Linked DNA regions of Homo sapiens: region 1 is linked to region 2. Evidence: promoter capture Hi-C in 16 types of primary human blood cells and fetal thymus (Javierre and others, 2016). All regions are on one chromosome and are shown on one strand. The core of a region is centred on a gene start or on the middle of the fragment in contact, and the rest is flanking DNA. Distances in the headings are between cores, read along the strand shown. Region 1 holds the start of NFXL1 (nuclear transcription factor, X-box binding like 1). Region 2 holds the start of FRYL (FRY like transcription coactivator).

Region 1 (4,816 bases), core at 40-2,539, 870 kb before region 2:
GTCTTGGATGAAAAGTATTGATATATCGGAGGCAACACCAGATATGTCCACAGAAGGACATGGAATTTGTAAATAGGAACTACAGTCAAGGAAGGTATCAAAAGCTCAAGTGCTTACAAGGAATAAGACAAGTCAAGAAACAAAGGCAAAGGTAAAGATGACAAATGACACCTGGCTCCAGAAATGAGAGAGAATGTGAGATGGAATGCCCAAGTCCAATCTAAATGGGATTTCTGTGACTCAGCCGAGCTGACTGTTGCCATGCACAAAGATAACTAAAGCCACAAGGTTGTTAACCAGATTTTTAAAAACGACAAACAACCGCTGACAATCAATCCACATTTAAAACTCTGTGTTAACCAAACAACATTATAGACCAAATCAGAACACCGGGCCACAATTTACAACTGATGGTCTGGAGATTCAAGTAGGCAAGAGTGGAGGGAAGTAACAAAGGTAATACCACCTAAAATTAAGATGAAAGAGGTGCGATGGAAATCTACCTAGAGTGCCGAAAAGAGCAGCCACCCGAAAGGCTGGAGAAGTGGGCCCGATAACAAACTCCCGAACGAGGGGAAAAGCAGTGAAAGAAAGAAGGCGAGGGCGGAGGCGGTCCTGACTAGTAACTGCCTTAGGAGGCATCCAGGTGAGCACGCGGGCGGGAGCCATTCTCACCGCTGGCTGCGGTAGTCTGCAGGGCTTGGGATCCTGCGGGGCTGTGCCTGCTCCCTGCAGCCGCCGTGGTCGCGACTCCTCCGGGACTGGTGCCAGAAGGAACTGCGCCCACCGACCCCTTCTCTCGCCCTCCTCCGGCGCCGCGGAGATGGACTCCATTTCCTGAGGGGGCGGCAGTGGCCCGTCCCCGGGATCGGCCTCGGCCACCGGCCACCTGGCGCCAGGAAGCTTCCATCCCTGCAAAGGAGAAAAAAAAAAAAAAGAGTGGAAGGAGGTGAGCGCAGCGAGGACCGAGGCGAAGGAGGGTCAGTGCGGAAACCCGGTGTGAGGGGCCGAGTGAGGAAGGTTCCTGCAGGGCGGCGACCGGGTTTTAGGAGGTCGCGGCCCTGCCTTTACCGGAGGGCGAGTCCCCGCCAAGCCCGGGCTTTGGAGATGGACCGAAGAGGGGAGGGAGGACTAGGTACAGAAATAAACCGCGGAGCAAGAAGCACACAGTGCCGAAGACAGAAAGCCGGAGGAGAAGTCGAAACCGCCTCCTCAGCCTCTGCGGGAGCGTGGTAGGGGAAGAGTCACAGACTGACCCTGCGTCTCCCGCCGGGAACCAACTGCAGTGGTACACCCCACGGAAAGCTACGTCTCCTTACCGACTGCGCACGCCCCCAACAGACTACAACTCCCAGAAGCCCCCGCCCGCGTTCCGGCGACTGCGTGGCAGCACGGGCCGCTTCCTTATCCGGTAAAGTGCGGGGGTTGGGTGGGAGGGAAACCCCAAGCGCCTGCGCTGGCCCGAACAGGCCTTTGGGAACTACAACTCCCGGCGTGCTCTGGGGCTAGGGAGGGGTCGAAGGTCATAGGGGCGCGTGGTGGTGGAGGCGGGCGGGTCCGGAGGGTTTCGTGACCCCACAATTTGCTTCTGCTTCTGCAAGACTGCCCTAAACTCACCTGGGTATGAGGATTACATGGCTCTGTCCCTAATTGGCTCTCTGCCATCTTTTATTAGCCTTGCCTTTGAGCTTGCGGATGACAGGAGGTGTCAATGTAAAATAATCAAAAGCGCGAAGTTTGAGGATAGCCTACCTAGAAACACCGACTCCAAGGAAGGAGTCAGCGTTCCGAAGTAGAGATTTAAGATTTCACTTATATAGGCAGAAACTGAGAGGTTTTTTAGCAGGATTACAGCATTTTCTCATACAAGGTTAGAGAATAGTTACAACAATTTGATTATAGACAGTGTTTCTTTTTGGGAAGTGTACATTTAACATTTTTCATAAAGGATTTTCTGTCATCTGGTCTAAGCAAACCGGGGCAACAAAGCAGAAGTTAATCTATAAGGATCATTAAGAAGGCAGGAAGTTTTTGTCCTTAACTTCGTTTAATTCTCTCTAGCCATTGTATAGAACAAGAAAAATAAGAAAGCAAGTTAATCTATAATCTGAGAAACAGAAGTTGTAACCACGTGTAACTCAGATGACAGTCACATCTCTCTCCAGGCTTAGTGAGTTTTAGGCTCCAACAACCTTTAAACTATTTATTTTCATAGGGAAGTCTCACTAACAGGAAAGGCACTTACATTGAAAACGCTTTGAGGTTGGCCACTGTGAAGGAGGGAAATTCGGGGGAGAGTTGCAGGAAAGTGGCTTGAGTAGTAAAAGTACCCTTCTAAAATGCTAGAGCCAATGTAGAAAATAAATCTAAAGCCTGTTATTGTCATAGTCCTTTGTAGTGTGCAATGAGCTTTCCCTGGGACATGCTAATTTTTACCTTCACAGCATCTCCCTAAAGTAGATTTTGTTAAGGAAAATAGTTGAGGGCCAGGACCTAAATCTTATGATTTTGCTGAGTTTTCCAATAAGATACATGTGCATATATACTGACAGGTAGATTGCAAAAATTCATTCTGGGGTCTGTCTGGGATTGAGAAACATATTGATGGCTTATTGTACAGTCCTTCAACTTAGTTAATTCTTCTATTTTAACCATAAATTTCTATTATAATATTTAGATAGCATTTATTAGATGTCAGGCACTGTTTAAAGTGTTTTACGTTATGTATTAACTAATTTGGTACTCACAGTAACCGTGTTTATTATCCCCGTTTTACAACTGAGAACACTGAGGCACAGAGAGATTAAGCAATTTGCCCTTGATCATACAGCTAGGAAGTAGTGAAGCCAAGATTCAATCCTAAGTAGTCTAGTATTAGAAACCATGCTTTTAATGTCTTAAACATAGATATTGCAGAATTGCCTGTACATTAACCAAACTCAAAAATGACATCCCATGGCCAGGCATGGTGGCTCACGCCTGTAATCCTAGTACTTTGGGATGCCAAGGCGGGTGGATCACCTTAGGTCAGGAGTTTGAGGCAAGCCTGGCCAACATGGCGAAACCCTGTCTCTATTAAACATACAAAAATTAGCTGGGCATGGTGGTGGGTGCCTATAATCACAGCTACTAGGGAGGCTGAGGCAGGAGAATTGTTTGAACCCAGGGGGCGGAGGTTGTAATGAGCCAAGATCGCGCCACTTCACTCCAGCCTGGGCAAAAGAGCAAAACTCCGTCTCAGAAAAATGAAAAGAAGAAAAGAAATAACATCTCTGAGAATGATATAACTTCATTGGCTAGAAACTAACAGGTGCACAGCAACTCTCTTAATGCTGCACTTGTATAAGAACTGTAAGTTTAAAGCTGCAACCAGCTTTCAAAGTTTGAAAACCCTAAAGTGAGACTTTTCTTCAGTGGGGTTTTCACATACAGGAAAGGAGCTGTTATACTCTGAGAGAGAATATAGTAATTATCACTGAGTAATGTCCAAGAAGTATTGAGTGGCTACTAAAAAGAGAGATCCTTCTTAGAATTATGTTATATGCCAGAGAGCTGGACTAGCATATTATCTAAATTTCCATGTCAAACTTTATTGAGAAATTTTTTCTGTTCCCTCAAATATTCAATAGCTAATAACAGTGACCAGCAATCCTTGAGTGCTTTCTATGTGCCAGCATTCTTCTAGGTCCTTTTTTCTTTTACTCATCTAATCTTCACAATAACCATGAAGTAGGTATTGTTATCGTCAAAACAATTTTTTTTTATTATACTTTAAGTTCTAGGGTACGTGTGCACAATGTGCAAGTTTCTTACATAGGTATACATGTGCAATGTTGGTTGGCTGCACACATCAACTTGTCATTTACATTAGGTATTTCTCCTAAAGCTATCCCTCCACCAGCCCCCCACCCTGCAACAGGCCCTTGTGTGCGATGTTCCCCTCCATGTGTCCATGTGTTCTCAGTGTTCAACTCCCACTTATGAGTGAGAACATGTGGTGTTTGGTCTTCTGTCCTTGTGATATTTTGCTGAGAATGATGGTTTCCAGCTTCATCCATGTCCCTGCAAAGGACATGAACTCATCCTTTTTTATGGCTGCATAGTATTCCATGGTGTATATATGGCACATTTTCTTTATCCAGTCTATTATTGATGGACATTTGGGTTGGTTCTAAGTCTTTGCTATTGTGAATAGTGCCTCAGTAAACATGCCTGTGCATGTATCTTTATAGTAGCATGATTTATAATCCTTTGGGTATATACCCAGTAATGGGATTGCTGGGTCAAATGGTATTTCTAGTTCTAGATCCTTGAGGAATCGCCACACTGTCTTCCACAATGGTTGAAATCATTTACACTCCCAAGAACAGTGTGAAAGCATTCCTATTTCTCCACATCTTCTCCAGCATCTGTTGTTTCCTGACTTTTTAATGATTGCCATTCTAACTGGCGTGAGATGGTATCTCATTGTGGTTTTGATTTGCATTTCTCTGATAACCAGTGATGATGAGCATTTTTTCATATGTCTGCTGGCTGCATAAATGTCTTCTTTTGAGAAGCGTCTATCCATATATTTTGCCCACTTTTTGATGGGGTTGTTTTTTCTTGTACTTTTGTTTAAGTTCTTTGTAGATTCTGGATATTAGCCCTTTGTCAGATGGATAGATTGCAAAAATTTTCACCCATTCTGTAGGTTGCCTGTTCACTCTGATGATAGTTTATTTTGCTGTGCAGAAGCTCTTTAGTTTAATTAGATCCCATGTGTCTATTTTGGCCTTTGTTGCCATTGCTTTTGGTGTTTTAGTTATGAAGTCTT
Region 2 (5,053 bases), core at 267-2,766:
TACAGACGATATCTCCTAGGCAGCACAGCATTTTATAAAACCAACTTTACTTCCATCAAAACCCTTTTTCCCCCCCAATCCGACAGACCCTGGCAACCTGTCTTGCTGTGTCTTTTTTCCCCTACCCTTCCAAAAGAACCCCAGCCAGTGAATCGAAGTAATATTTTCCGCAGTTCAAAGGTAAGGGCAAACTCAGCTCTACTAAGAACTCTTGCTCCTCACCAGCACACACCCTAACCCCCACCCCCTTTTTTTTCTTTTCAAATCTTGGCCTAGGAAAGATTAATGCTCCCATATCATTGCAAATCCACAAAAATGCGATTTTAGGTGGCGAGGAACTAAACTAGGATGGCAGGAAAGACCGGCAGCAATAAATCATTTCGCCCTAGAAACCAGCCTCTCCAGAACGCAGGAAACCAGGCTGTGCCCAAAGAACCTGCCGCCCGGAAGCAACAACTTCCATCAAACGGCAAATAAAAGTTGCAAAGAAGAGCTCAGCGCCCAGGCACCCTGCCCGGTGCCGAGGCTGAGAGCAGCAGGCAATCTACAGGCCGAGTCAGCTCGCGGGCGGTGGCCGCGGTGTCCGCAGGGCTGGCTCCGGCTCCGGAAGACTCCGGGTCCCGGGGTACGCCAACGGCCCGGGGCTGCGCGGGCACAGCGCCCGCACCCCTCCCCAGGACCGCGAGCAGTGGGCGGAGAGACCAGAGCAAGGGAAAAGGCGGACAATGCCCGGCTGGGCTGGCGCGCTCCGCCGGTCCCCGCCAGCCCTGCCCGCCGGGGCCCGCCAGCCGCCGCGCTAAGTTTGCTCCTCAGCCCTCCCTTCCCAGCCGAGGCGGCGGAGCCGTGGTCGCCGGTCTTCCTCCACCTCTGCCACCGCCTTCCTTCCCGCGGGGCGGCTCCCGCGAGTCGGTGGCGAGGCGGCGCGCGACCAGAGCAGGACGCGCGAGAAGGCGGCGCGCGAGGGGTACCCGGGCGCGCGCGAGAAGAGCCAGGCACTGGAGGGGAAGGGGACGTGCGGGAGAGACGGGCGCGCGGCGCTGCCGGCGGAACCGCCGGAGCTCGGGCGGGCTTTCGGTTGAGGCTGGGGTTGCGCCGCGGTTTGGTGTCCGTTACGAGCGCCGGCCCGGGCCGCGCCGCGCCGCTTGCCAGCCATCCTGGACCGCCTTCCCTCGGCGCCCACCAGGAAGGACAGCTGGCGAGGGCCGACGACCTCGTCTCCCGCCCAGGCTGGGCTGCCGGCGGCGGGCATCCCGGCGCCTGCCCCGGGGCTGGAAGAGAAAGTAAAATGAAGCGCCTTTCCCCAGTCAACACCTACCCGTTCCCAGTCCTAGTACAGCTGCCTCGCTCCTCCAGCGCCGCCGGTCCCCGCCCTCGGGCCCCTGGCTCCGTTCTCTTGACAATGGCGCGTCCCCTTTAAGGAATAATCCGATCGGAACCGATCTGTGGTTAAACCTCCCTCCGACTCTGATTTTAACCGGATTTCTCTCTCGCTCTCTCCCAGAGCCCGACGGGCGCCCGGCTGTGCTGCGAGGTCTTCCCACCCCTTCCCTACCCCGCCCGCCCCCTGGCCTTCCTGATTGGCGAGAAACACTACAACAGGAACAGCAGTCCTCGCCCTCCACTGGCCTGGCCAGCCGCCGCTCAAAGTTGCTCCTACCTTCTCCCCGCCCCTTTTCCCGGGTTGGTCTTCCCTCTAATCATTCTCTGCCCTCGCCTCTAACGTTGCTTTGGAGCCCTGGCAGTCAAGGCTCACCCTCCCGCCTCCGGAAAGCGAACTTTATTTTTATTGGTGAAAGGACATCTTCCTGTACACTTGATTGGGCAAGGAAAGAGCTAGTCTGCACGCTCCCTACCATTATTACTCTCTCTTTACGGGCTTGAGAAACACAGCCGCAAAGTCCTCTCCGCTTTGCCTTCTAGGAGCGACTTTACCTTTAAATGTTGTTAGGGGTCGAGGACAAACTCATATCCTATATTGAGGAAAGCTGGAAAGGGACAAGAGAAAAATTCAAAATTTTCTCCCGATCAGTAATGTATCCAGAGCTGGCGCCCGGATCCTGCGGAACCTTATCCAATGATCCAGAGAATGGAATGGTTAGAATTGAGTTAGAATACCTGAAAGTCCAGTGCTAATTCCTCCTGAGATTTACTCAACAAGTTTCATCCACTGTCCGCCCTACTCATACCATTGATTGCACTGGCATTTTGCCACCCGGAAGAGCTTTAATCAAGTTATCTGCAAACCTGGAGGTTTCCTTGCTTGTCTCGCAATTGTTCATTTAGAAAATCATTTCCATTACAAGTTCCGTTTAAGTCACGTCCTCTGTGACGTTCCCGCGTTTCCACGAGACCTGTTACTTTTTTGAAAAAATTAAGTAGATGGTACCCTTATGCCATCCTCAAAGTGTAGGACTTCGTTCCCCCTTGCTAGAACTGTAGGAAAAACACCCCAGGTCACTTGAACAACTGAGATGCCTCTCAGGAGAAAACGAGTCTGTCTAAGGGAAAGAGGGAATCTGATACCAGAAGCTTGACCATGGAGCAGAACCTCACGCATTGAAAAGAGAAGAAATTATGGGGAAGCCTAGTGCGGGGTCTGCTTTAGAGTTTCCCCAGTTTCCCACTGGAGCTGTAAGAACTAAAAGGTTTATTTCCACTAAAATTGAGTACAGGTACAGCTTCGGTACCCATCTAAGAATGTTAGGGGAAAATGGTTATGTGTTCTCTCCCTCTTTGCCGATGAACCTTGAAGACTGTGTACCCCGGGGGCTTTAGTACATTTGCAGTGATACCCCAGTATAATCTAATGGTGCCAAGGAAGTGTCAGTGCTCAGCAGTACCCTAGAAAAGGGGCTTGATGATGACAGAGAAGGGTAAGTAAACATCAGTAGTTGGTAGTTCATAGGACTTTTCCCCAAATACAGGTGAAAAATTTCATGAGGATTCCCGAAAATATGAAAGAGCAGGAAACAAAAGGGAACGTTGCAGGAAGGTGGTTTAGGTATCACTAGTGGGGGCAAGAGACGATGAACTATCTGGGTTGCATTTATATGGCCTTCACAGATACACACATCCTCCCTATTAAGTCCCTATAACTAAATCCCTATGCTTAGCCTATTCTGATTTTACTGTATAATAAAACTGCAGCCAAGCTAAACTAATACTTCTGGTTTACTCACTTACCACTCTCAAACTCTGAGACTGCTTCTGGGTTCTAATATTCTACATTAGAATATAAGAAGAAGAAGATACTATGTACTGATATCTAGTATGATCTTCTGGAGATAAAGATATCCAGTGTTTCAGGCATGTACACACCTGCAGCTTTTGTTCAAGGTCTAAGTGATGTTTTCAGGTTCTTTCTAAAACACCTGCCCTATGATATCCAGCTTGTTACTGCCCTCTTTTGCTGCACTAGCAGACTGGGCATATAAACTAGAGAAGGCAGTCTACAGTAACCTCTAGATTCTCTTACTTGCATTGAACCAACTATGCTGAGATTATCACCTTTCAAGTATAATTTGTGTTATTCTTTTCTCTAAATATTTCATATTTGCCCACAATAGGATCATTTATCACTTTTTAGCCCACACATGCAACTTCCTGGTACTAATACTCCTACTGGCATTTCACAGCAAAGAAGAATTTTAAAAATCTACAAACCTGGAGCTTACAACGTAGAGGTTATTCTTAAGAATGTTCAGTGTTGATGAACACAGCCCCAGTTCTAACCCTGGAGAATTTTACAAGTTGTACTTTCTCATTCAGAGAGACTTTATCTCTCTACCTTAGTTTCTCATTCTAAGCCCAATCCCCACTCTTTAAAAAAAGAATATTTCTCGGCTGGGTGCAGTGGCTCACGCCTGTAATCCCAGCACTTTGGGAGGCCAAGGCAGGTGGATGACTTGAGGCCAGGAGTTCAAGACCAGCCTGGGCAACATGGCGAAACCCCATCTCTGCAAAAAATACAAAAATTAGCTGGTGGGAATGGTCACAGGCCTGTGATCCCAGCTACTGGGGAGGCTGAGGCAGGAGAATCACTTGAACCCGAAAGGCGAAGGTTGCAGTGAGCCAAGATTGCACCACTGTACTCCAGCCTGGGCGACAGAGTCTCACTCTGTCACACACACACACACACACACACACACACACACACACACCCTTCTCCAATGTGCTAATGTAAATAAAGCTTTTTAAATTATTGTATATAGATGTTTGTTAAAGTCTTTTAAATGGTGAAATACCTCCAGGCACCATGGCTCACACCGTGCCAGTAATCTCAGCACTTTGTGAGGCCGAGGCAGGCAGATCACCTCAGGTCAGGAGTTCAAGACCAGCCTGGCCAACATGGTGAAACCTCGTCTTTACTAAAAATACAAAAATTAGCCGGGCGTGGTGGCGCATGCCTGTAATTCCAGCTACTCGGGAGGCTGAGGCAGGAGAATGGCTTGAACTCGGGAGGCGGAGGTTGCAGTGAGCTGAGATCGCACCACTGCACTCCAGCCTGGATGACATAGCAAGACTCCGTGTCAAAAATAAAAAATACAAAAAAAGTGAAATATGTTATGATCACTATTCTCCCTGTTTATATGCAAATGTACCCCTCAAAGAGGTTCCATAGTTTAACCAGTAATTATTTTTCCTCTGAAAAATTATGTTACCATTCCTATTGGAAATTCTTTCCAGTTCACCACACACTTATATAGCGACTATTATGTGTTAAGAATAGTGAGAAAATGGGGGCCAAGTGCAGTGGCTCACACCTGTATTCCCAGCACTGGGAGGCCGAGGCAGGTAAATCACTTGAGCTCAGGAGTTCGAGACCAGGCTGACCAACATGGTGAAACCCCGTCTCTACTAAAAATACAAAATTAGCTGGGCGGGGTGGCGCGTGCCTGTAATCCCAGCTACTCAGGAGGCTGAGGCAGGAGAATCGCTTGAACCTGGAAGGCGGAGGTGCGGTGAGCTGAGATGTTGCCATTGCACTCCAGCCTATGCAACAAGAGTGAAACTCCGTCTAAAAAAAAAAAAGAATAGGGAGAAAATGATGAAT

The links. The method cuts DNA at HindIII sites, captures the fragments that hold promoters and counts their contacts. A CHiCAGO score of 5 or more calls a contact.
Region 1: a contact is called between the fragment with the promoter of NFXL1 here and the fragment with the promoter of FRYL in region 2, in 4 of 17 cell types (monocytes, fetal thymus, naive CD4 T cells and 1 more). The highest score is 11.0, in monocytes.

What each region holds. Positions count from the first base shown.
Region 1 is chr4:47,913,294-47,918,109 of GRCh38, forward strand. NFXL1 (nuclear transcription factor, X-box binding like 1) reads right to left here and starts at 1,290. Exons shown (of 23, transcript NM_001278624.2): 1 at 1,072-1,290; 2 at 676-912. The coding sequence starts at 910. It overlaps LOC101927157 (a long non-coding RNA gene), which reads left to right and starts at 934. Exons shown (of 3, transcript NR_125879.1): 1 at 934-1,411. RefSeq lists enhancers at 158-844, 845-1,530, 1,041-1,270. The HindIII fragment of the contact is 5,032 bases long and covers 902-4,816 here.
Region 2 is chr4:48,778,763-48,783,815 of GRCh38, forward strand. FRYL (FRY like transcription coactivator) reads right to left here and starts at 1,517. Exons shown (of 64, transcript NM_015030.2): 1 at 1,316-1,517. RefSeq lists silencers at 483-1,362, 1,453-1,562. The HindIII fragment of the contact is 8,638 bases long and covers 1-2,527 here.